Regions from separate parts of the Homo sapiens genome. Here all the other regions are linked to region 2. The links are contacts of gene promoters, found by promoter capture Hi-C in blood cells and fetal thymus (Javierre and others, 2016). All regions are on one chromosome and are shown on one strand. The core of a region is centred on a gene start or on the middle of the fragment in contact, and the rest is flanking DNA. Distances in the headings are between cores, read along the strand shown. Region 1 overlaps CPEB2-DT (CPEB2 divergent transcript). Region 2 holds the start of LAP3 (leucine aminopeptidase 3). Region 3 overlaps CPEB2 (cytoplasmic polyadenylation element binding protein 2).

Region 1 (2,724 bases), core at 47-2,546, 2.6 Mb after region 2:
TTTAATTTCCTTCAAGAACTTTTCCTTTGCATTCAGAACTTGACTAACTACTTGGTGCAAGAGGCCTAGCTTTCAACCTATTTCAGCTTTCCACATACCTTCCTCACTAAGCCTAATTATTTCTAGCTTTTCATTTAAAGTGAGAGACATGTACCTCTTCCTTTCACTTGAATACTTAGAGGTCGTTAGAGTGTTATTAATTGGCCTAATTTCAATATTGTTTTGTCTCAGGGAATAGGGAAGCCCAAAGCCTTTATTGATTAAATTATTGTCTTATATGGTTGTGGTTTGTGATGTCCCAAAACAGTTACACTAGTAACATTAAATATTATGATCACAGATCCCCAAAATAGATATAATAATAATGACAAAGCTTTAAGTAACGCAAGAATTACCAAAATGTAACACAGAGATACAAATTGAGCCATGCTGTTGGGAAAATTGTGCTGATAGACTTGCTTGATGCAGGGTTGCCACCAACCTTCAATTTGTGAAAAACCCATTATCTGAGAAGCACAATATAGCAGAGCACAATAAAGCGAGGAGTGCCTATATATCCAGAATCCAAGCACTTCACCCCATTCTCACCACAAGCAGCCTGGACCAGGCTACATCGTTGCTCTCACCTACTAACTCGTATTCCAGCTTCTGATCTTGCCCCTCTCCAGTCTGTTCCCAACATAGCAGCCAGGATGATACTTCTGAAGTGGAAGACAGGTCATGTCAACTCCTCTGACTAAATACTTACATTTTCTCAGAATAGAAGTCAAAACATTTTAATAACCAAAAGGTTCTTCAGAATCGCTCCTGCCACCACTAACCCCTCTGAAAGCTTCCCTACAGTGGAATGCTTATTTCTGTAACAGCCCAGGCCAATTCAGCCTTAGGGCCTTTGCCCTCGCAATTCCCACACCTGGAATACTTGTCTCCTAAGTAGCAACAGGGCTCACTTAATCATGTTTTTATCATTTTTTTTCATGTCTCTCTCACGTCTCTGCTAAAAGTCATTTTTCAGTGATGTCTTCCCTGACCACCATTGTAATAAAATGACAACCCCCCGCCGCCACTCTTTCCCAGCCTTCTTATTCCTCATAAGGTGTTTGTGTTTCCATCTGACCCACTATGTACTTGAACTGTTTATCTGTCCTCTCTCTGAGATCACAAGCCCATGAGGAAAGGTCCATGCCTGTTTTGCTCACTGTTGTATCCTCAGCACTTACAACGATGCCTTGCACATAGTAGGCTTTCAAGAGTTGGGAATTGCATGCACTTATTAAAGGGGTTGTTGAATTAATAAATAGCAATTTTAGGAAATGATAGCTAAAAGAATACAATAGTAATACAAGGGTCTGTTTATAAATGGTTAATTTGTTTTCAGGAGCTGTCCAAACACCATGCAGATGCTCCTAGGATTCTTAAACTAGCCAAAAATAATTCCAGGCATTGTCAGATATAGGATAAGTACATGAAGACAGGTAAGTCATCCCAAGACTATAACGCTGGGGAATAGATAACCCTGGAGTACAAGGGGGAAAACTTCTGTCTCAGGAGACTAGAGTTGGGACTCCAGGAACACAGGGGTTCATTACAGGAGCTTGAACAAAGAGAGGAGTCAAGACCCCATCTCATAGAAATGGAACCAGTTCAGGAGGCACTGCAGTTAAGGTCAACTGGATGCCTTACTTCCATGCTGCTGGTTTCTTTCTGTGGCAGAGCCCATGCCCATAAATGTAATTAACCCCACAGAATGGGAAAGCTTTGAGTCTTTAGATGGGAGCTAATTAGCTCTGGTTTGGAGTTGGAAAAGGAGAAAGTAGAAATTAAGATTCATTCTGACCTTGACCAACTTCAAGGTGCTTTATTGATGTGGCACTCAAGAGTAGTACCATCCTCAATTACTTCTAGTTCTCCTACTTTTCTAAACCTTCCTTCATAATTTCCTCCTTCACTTTCTCCTTACATATTCTTTACGTGTGAGAGTTCCTTAGGCTTATGTTTCTGGTCCTTTTCTATATTTCTACCTACTTTTTCTAGATGAATTTATTATCATGTTTTCAAACATCATCTAAATGCTAATGTCTTCCAAATCCATCTCTTTAGCCTCATGGTCAAAATCATATTTCCAACTGCCTGTTTAACAGTTTGACCTGGGTGTCCTTCAGCCACATCAATTCAATGTGTCTATACCTGCATTCAACATCTTCCCCAAAATCTGCTTCTCCTATTTTGCTTCTTGTCTTGGCTGACGTCATCATCACACAACCAGTTTCTCAAGCTGAAACATGAGTCATCCTCTTCCTTCATCTCTCTCACCCTCCAAAAACAATTGTCAACCATGCTCTGTCAATTATACTGCAGAAACGTTACTCAAATGTAATTCCTTCATGTATCTCCGCATTCCCTTGCCTTTCACATTCCTGGAACACAAGTGCCCAATAAGTATTTGTTGATTAGTAATTGCCCAATGAATGCTGTAAGAAGAAAAGATGAAGAAAAGGAGAAAACAAGGTAAGGAAAGGAAGGAGGGAGATGGAAGGAAGGAAAGAGGTAGATGTTTCCAAAGCATGCTTTACAAAGACATGAGCCATTTTGTGGATAACTGTAGCATTGTTACCTTATGTTTACTGGAGAAAAAATAAAATGAATAATCATAATAACAATGACAAAAAAGTTATTTTCCTTCCCAATATTTTTTCCTTGACAATACCAAACTAAAAGTTTCAC
Region 2 (2,843 bases), core at 1-2,500:
CACCAAAGAAAACGGCCTTCCTTGGCATTGGTAACTCTGCCAGGTTCTAACTTCCCTAAGATTGTTCACTCCCCGGGAATCAATGGAGCCAACTGAGCAACTGTTATCTGGGTAGGCTGTGGCACAGTACTGGAGATAGCACTGGTCAGGCGACTGGTCCCTCCACCACTGAGATACCTGCAGGAGACTGGAGCTCAAGCTCCCCCTAGAACGTTCTTCTGCAGGGACAGTCATCTCTTTCTGGTGCTTAGGCATGACTCCCAAGCTTGTGCTGGTTCCGAGAGCCATTCCCTTTGCAGATCCTTCACATCTGAAGAGCGACCTTCGTAATTTTTTGGAGTTCACTTTTCTTCTGGAAGATGCTCTTAATTCTGGGAAACGTGGGTCTCTCCCCAAAGCCCTTTTCTCTAGAGAGGCATGCTTTTCCTCTAGAAACCCTTCCAAGCTACTTAACTCCCTGACCTTTCACTTCCGCGGGGGAAGGAGCCCTGTGACTCTGGGACCTCAGAAACCCTTTCACCTTGGCAAACTCGGGCTTCCTCCAAGCTCGGATGGGAGCCCCACCGCCGCGTCTTTCCCCGGGTTACTGCCAGGACCGCGGGTGACGACTGGAGCAAGTGCGCGGCCGAGTGGAGCCGGGTAAAGGGCGGCTACAACCATCACCCCCTAGCCCCGAGCAGGGGAATCGCGCCCTCAATACGACCGCTGGGGTCCTCAGCGGCCTAGGCCGATCCCCGCAAGGAGAGAATTTTTCTTTTAAACTGATTTTTGCAACTTGGCTTGGGCGCCCAGGACACCGCGGCTTCGACCAGCCCCGCAGCCCCAGTAGCCCACGGGCAGGGCCCCAGCGGCGGACCATGAGCGAGCCGCCGCCTCTCACCTTCGTCATGTCTGCGGTGGAGAGACTCCGGCTCCCGAAACGTCTCACGGCCAGACGTCGGACGACTACTCGCCCCGCAGCCGGAAGAGGCAGCAAGAACATCTTGTCGGCTCGGCCCCTCGCACCGCCCTCCAGCGAGCACGTGGAGAGCGGTGGGCGGGCGCGCCTTGGGGCGGGGCTTTCGGGGCGCAGACGGCGTGCGCGCGGACTGGCTCGGGCGCCGGGCGAGCGGACGTGCGTCTAGGGGGCGGGACGGATGGGCAGCACCGGCCGACTGGACCGCTGGGATCAAACCGCGGTTGTGGAGGGGACTCAAGGGTGCGCCCGCATTCGTGTGCGCCCGCATTCGTGTGCGCCCGCATTCGTGTGCGCCCGCGCATGCGGGCGGGGGCGAAAAGGCGGGGCTTCCGGACGCGGTTGACAGTCCCGGGAGCAACGCGAAGTAGAGGGGCGGGACCGATATGGTGACGTCACACGATGGGTGGGGCGGAGGCGGGGCGAGTTCTGCAAGCGGGCGTGGGCGGAGCGCTGGGCAACTCCCGGGAAATAGAAACTGAGTGCCAGAGCTTGTTGTCAAGGTTGCTGAATAGACGACTGCATAGTGAAGACACTCCCACTGAGTTTTCGTTTGTTTGTTTGGTTTTTTTGAGTCGGAGTCTCGCTCTGTCACCCAGGTTGGAGTGCAATGGAGCGATCTCGGCTCACTGCAACCTCCCGCTGCTTAGTTGAAACGATTCTCCTGCCTCGTCCTCCCGAGTAGCTGGGATTAGGGGCGCCCGCCACCACGCCCAGCTAATCTTTGTGTTTTTTTGTTGTTTTTTTGGATTTTTTTTTTGAGGCGGAGTCTCGCTCTTGTAGCCCTGGCTGGAGTGCAGTGGCGCAATCTCGGCTCACTGCAACCTCCGCCTTTCGGGTTCAACAGATTCTCCTGCCTCAGCCTCCCGAGTAGTTGGGACTACAGGCGCCCACCACCACACCTGGCTAATCTTTGTATTTTTAGTAGAGACAGTGTTTGGCCATGTTAGCCAGGCTGGCTTTGAACTCCTGACCTCTGGTGATACACCCGCCTCAGCCTGCCAAAGTGCTGGGATTACTTACAGGCGTGAGCCACCGTGCCCGGCAACTCTTTGTATTTTTAGTAGAGACGAGGTTTCACCATGTTGTCCAGGCTGGTCTCGAAGTCCTGACCTCGTGATCCACTTGCCTCGGCCTCGCTAAGTGCTGGGATTACAGGCGTGAGCCACCGCACCTGGCCTGAGTTATTTTTATTCGTGTCCTTTCATCTGTTCCACAGGTGCAACGGTGTAAATACTGTTTTTGAAAATGATGTAACACTATTAGGTTCGTTGACTCGTGCACATAGCAAGTCAATACGCCCAGACACCAGGGTTGCAGCAGAGAAAGAGGTGTAATCGTGGAGTCGCCAAAGGAGGAGATGGGAGGAAACCTCAAATCCATCTCCCTGAGGAATTTGGGGTCAAGGTTTTTAAGGGTTTTGGAGAGGGCTATAGTGTGGAGATCGTTGATTGAAGAGTGCAGGGTGAAGTCATGGGACAGGGCGTTGAAGAACCTGTATTCTTAAGCTGACCCCATTCCTCTCTGGGGATCTTCAAACTGGTAGCTGGAATTCAAGGTCTGAAAAATATCTTAAGCGATCCTTAAACAGAAAGCTTATGATTCTAATGTCAGAGATCCTGTCTATAGGAACAATGGGAATGCAAATGGTCAGTATGTAGTGCTAGGTGACTTTTAGCAACAAGGAAGTGGGCCAAAGTACAGCCTGATTAATGCTTAATTATAACTATATTTCTGCCTAGAACTTGGCATGAAATTTTTGTCAACACAGTGGGGATGGTTTCAATAGAAAGTTTTCAAGTAGTGCTCAATATTTTTATATATTTTTATTTTCTGTAAAGCGTTTTGTTTTTTTTAATTCCTTATTTTTTACTTTTTTTTTTTTAAC
Region 3 (3,064 bases), core at 17-2,516, 2.6 Mb after region 2:
CAGCTTTTATTGTACTTACAATGCTTGTGTTTAGTTCTCTAATTTTTACTTTAAAATAAAGCAATGTAGTGCTAATATTGTCCTTAATTTTAAGTAGATATTGATCATACTTTCCTGTTACACAATGTTATCACACCATACTCAGTAGCAGATGACGTGCTACTCTACTGCATAACGTAGTACTCAATCTCATAAGCTCTCTTCTCATTCTCTAGTTGTTCTACATAGATAACCCTTATTCATCTAACTAGACTCTTACCTTCTCCAAGACAAAGAATAGTATTTTTTATCCATATATTCTAAGGGTAATTAAAACACTAACATACAGAATGAATGAAGATACATTTCTTTTATTTTCTTTATTAATTTCGAACCTCAATAAAGTGTGTTAGCCATTCTCAGAAAAAAAATAAACAAATGTTTTAAAAGGCCAAAGCTATTCTAGTACTCACAAGAATTAAAATAGACAAGTGGAAAACATTTCAAGAACAATTAAAGCACTGAACACAGAATAGGAAACAAAAAGAAGGCATCCATTACTTAAGCTGTAATACAAGAGTCCATTCTTTTCCATTTTCAGTGGGCATGTAACAGTTTGATGACTATGAATGTCCCTGAAGTTCATCTGGTTTACAAACCACTATTTAAGAAATGCTTTATCAGATAAACAAATTGGGTTTGGTATGCAACTATATACTGTTTTTTTGTGTGTAAGGTGAGTAAAGATTCAAATAATATTTTTTCTGAGACAGATCTCCAAATTATGATTTACCACATTATCATAACAGCCTATTAAAGATTAATGGAAAGTATCTTCAATTAATTCAAGGTAGTTTATTATGTGACATGCTCAAGCACTGCAAGTAGAGCTTGTGGAAGAGCAAAAATTGAGAGTTGATATATTGATAATTCCCCAGGTGGAAGGCAGGCGGACATGCACGTACATGCTTCACACACTCAATTACTGTTCCAAGACATTACTTTGTTTACAGTGAGCTGATATGTCATATGTAAACTTGTAAGTAATAATAACCTCACTTAAAGGATATTTACTCTTTGATTTAAAACATATGAATAAATATAGCGTAACCTTAACATTAAACTGAAAACTCCTATTTTTTTGGGAAGAGGGGGTGGTGTCTTGTTATGTTGCCGAGGCTGGACTCAACTCTGGGGCTCAGGCATTCAATCCTCCTGCCTCAGCCTTCCAAGTAGTGCACATTGCTGGATCTGGCTGCAAATTCCATTGTAATATAATTTAGAATTCAAACTTTTGAGTACGATTCTCGCAAGGGTAACTAGCTAATGACATTTTAAAGTACAGTAATTAATAACCCTAAGCAAATTCATGTAGATATACTGGCCAGGCATGATGGCTCAAGCCTGTAATCCCAGCACTCTGGAGGCCGAGGCGGGCGGATTACATGAGATCAGGAGTTTGAGACCAGCCTGGCCAACATGGTGAAACCCTGTCTCTGCTAATAATATAAAAATTAGGCGGGTATGGTGGTGCATGCATGTAATCACAGCTACTGGGGAGGCTGAGGCATGAGAATCGCTTGAACCCGGGAGGCAGAGGTTGCAGTGAGACGAGATCGTGCCACTGCACTTCAGCCTGAGTGACAGAGTGAAACTGTCTCAAAAAAAAAAAAAAAAAAAGAAAAGAAATTCATAGAGATATGTATGTAATACTCATTTTAAAGTCAGAAATGTTTATAATAATTTATATTTGCTTTTAGAAAGTTTTAAATTTGAGGGTTTTCTATTTTTAAAAAATCTTATTTAAAATAAAATTCCAACCCACAAAATTTTACATATTAACAGAAATAAAAATCAACCTACAAAACTAGCTCTTTCTTATTTATTGAATTCGATTACGTGTTCAGCTCTTGACACAGGTAAAGCCCGCGGTATCCAAGTATAAGAATTAAGACTTCAGTTCTAGAATTTTGTATTATATTCTAGGCCCCAATCAGTTTGAGACTAAAGGAAATAAAAAGTAAAATGTTGTAAAATAATGTACTTGTTAACAAAAATATACTAGAATTACACTGTATATGATGATAAAAGGTCAGAAATGCAGATAATCTCCTCAGACATTTAAGTGACTAAGAATCTTCTATAATTTTAATTTTGCCAAAGAATGAGAAACTACCCAACATTTTAAGATATCAATTTCATTTTGTAGCTGCTGCTGTATTTTTAAGAGGCTCAACTTCAAATACTTCAACCTTTTATGGAAAGATGGAAACACACAACAAACTATGTGTAAGTACTCTTAGGGTACTTAGAGGAGACAATGACACTGCTTTTAAGTCCAGTTGAAAGGTCACATACTACCTCCACTGCCTTAGACTAATGCCTAAGACCCTTTGCTCAAAGAAACCAAGAGGCTTGTATTCTAAAAATAGAGGCAAGGGGGGTGGGGCAGCATGGAGGAAAAGAAATGGCCAAAACAGATCAGAGAAAGTGTTAAAAGCTGGCTGGAAAGGCCTTAAATGACCCAGTTCAAGGTCCCCCTTTTACAGATAAGGAAACTGTGACCCAAAGAGATGAAAACCTATAAACTATGTCATTCAATGTCATAAAGATTATGAGGAAGAGGAAGAAGATCCAAGTTTCAGGCCTTCTTTCCTTCCAGTTCCATTCACTTTCCATTATCTCTTTTTTCCCCCACCACTGTGTTTTACTTCATCACATCACACCTCTGGCTCAAAAGTCCAAAGGGAATGCCAATATCTCAGCAGTTTACCAGATAAGTTTATCTTTAAGCACCAAAATCATTTTTCCTAAAATAAATTTCCCTAAAATCTTAGGTTATAATACAGGTAAAAGCAGAATAGCTTTGATTGAAGTCTAAGTGGGAGGGCAGCCCCGGAGGCTGGTGTGAAAGCTTCCCTTTCATTATCACCCCTATCTCCTCTCTAGCATCCCTCCAACTGAAATCAACTCAATAATCTGATTTCTCAACATCTGTCCCTGCCTCATGGACCATGTATGCCAGCTAATTTGTATTCTTTTCCATGGATACTTATTTCTCCTATATATGTATCCTATATATGTA

The links. Contacts are between HindIII fragments. The CHiCAGO score rates a contact against its expected background, and 5 or more counts as called.
Region 1: a fragment that was not itself captured here is called in contact with the fragment with the promoter of LAP3 in region 2 in 1 of 17 cell types (naive CD8 T cells); the score reaches 6.1 in naive CD8 T cells.
Region 3: a fragment that was not itself captured here is called in contact with the fragment with the promoter of LAP3 in region 2 in 1 of 17 cell types (non-activated CD4 T cells); the score reaches 6.4 in non-activated CD4 T cells.

The regions. Positions count from the first base shown.
Region 1 is chr4:14,994,005-14,996,728 of GRCh38, reverse strand. It overlaps CPEB2-DT (CPEB2 divergent transcript), which reads left to right. Exons shown (of 8, transcript NR_038857.1): 4 at 1,379-1,475. Among named protein-coding and RNA genes, the nearest start is that of CPEB2-DT, 6.7 kb to the left of the region's middle. The HindIII fragment of the contact is 924 bases long and covers 835-1,758 here.
Region 2 is chr4:17,575,605-17,578,447 of GRCh38, reverse strand. LAP3 (leucine aminopeptidase 3) reads right to left here and starts at 1,250. Exons shown (of 13, transcript NM_015907.3): 1 at 881-1,250. The coding sequence starts at 982. RefSeq lists enhancers at 703-902, 1,243-1,602 and a silencer at 973-1,182. The HindIII fragment of the contact is 2,285 bases long and covers 268-2,552 here.
Region 3 is chr4:15,009,697-15,012,760 of GRCh38, reverse strand. All of the region lies in intron 3 of CPEB2 (cytoplasmic polyadenylation element binding protein 2), which reads right to left. It overlaps C1QTNF7-AS1 (C1QTNF7 antisense RNA 1), which reads left to right. Exons shown (of 6, transcript NR_125911.1): 4 at 2,189-2,268. Among named protein-coding and RNA genes, the nearest start is that of CPEB2, 8.7 kb to the right of the region's middle. The HindIII fragment of the contact is 3,258 bases long and covers 1-2,895 here.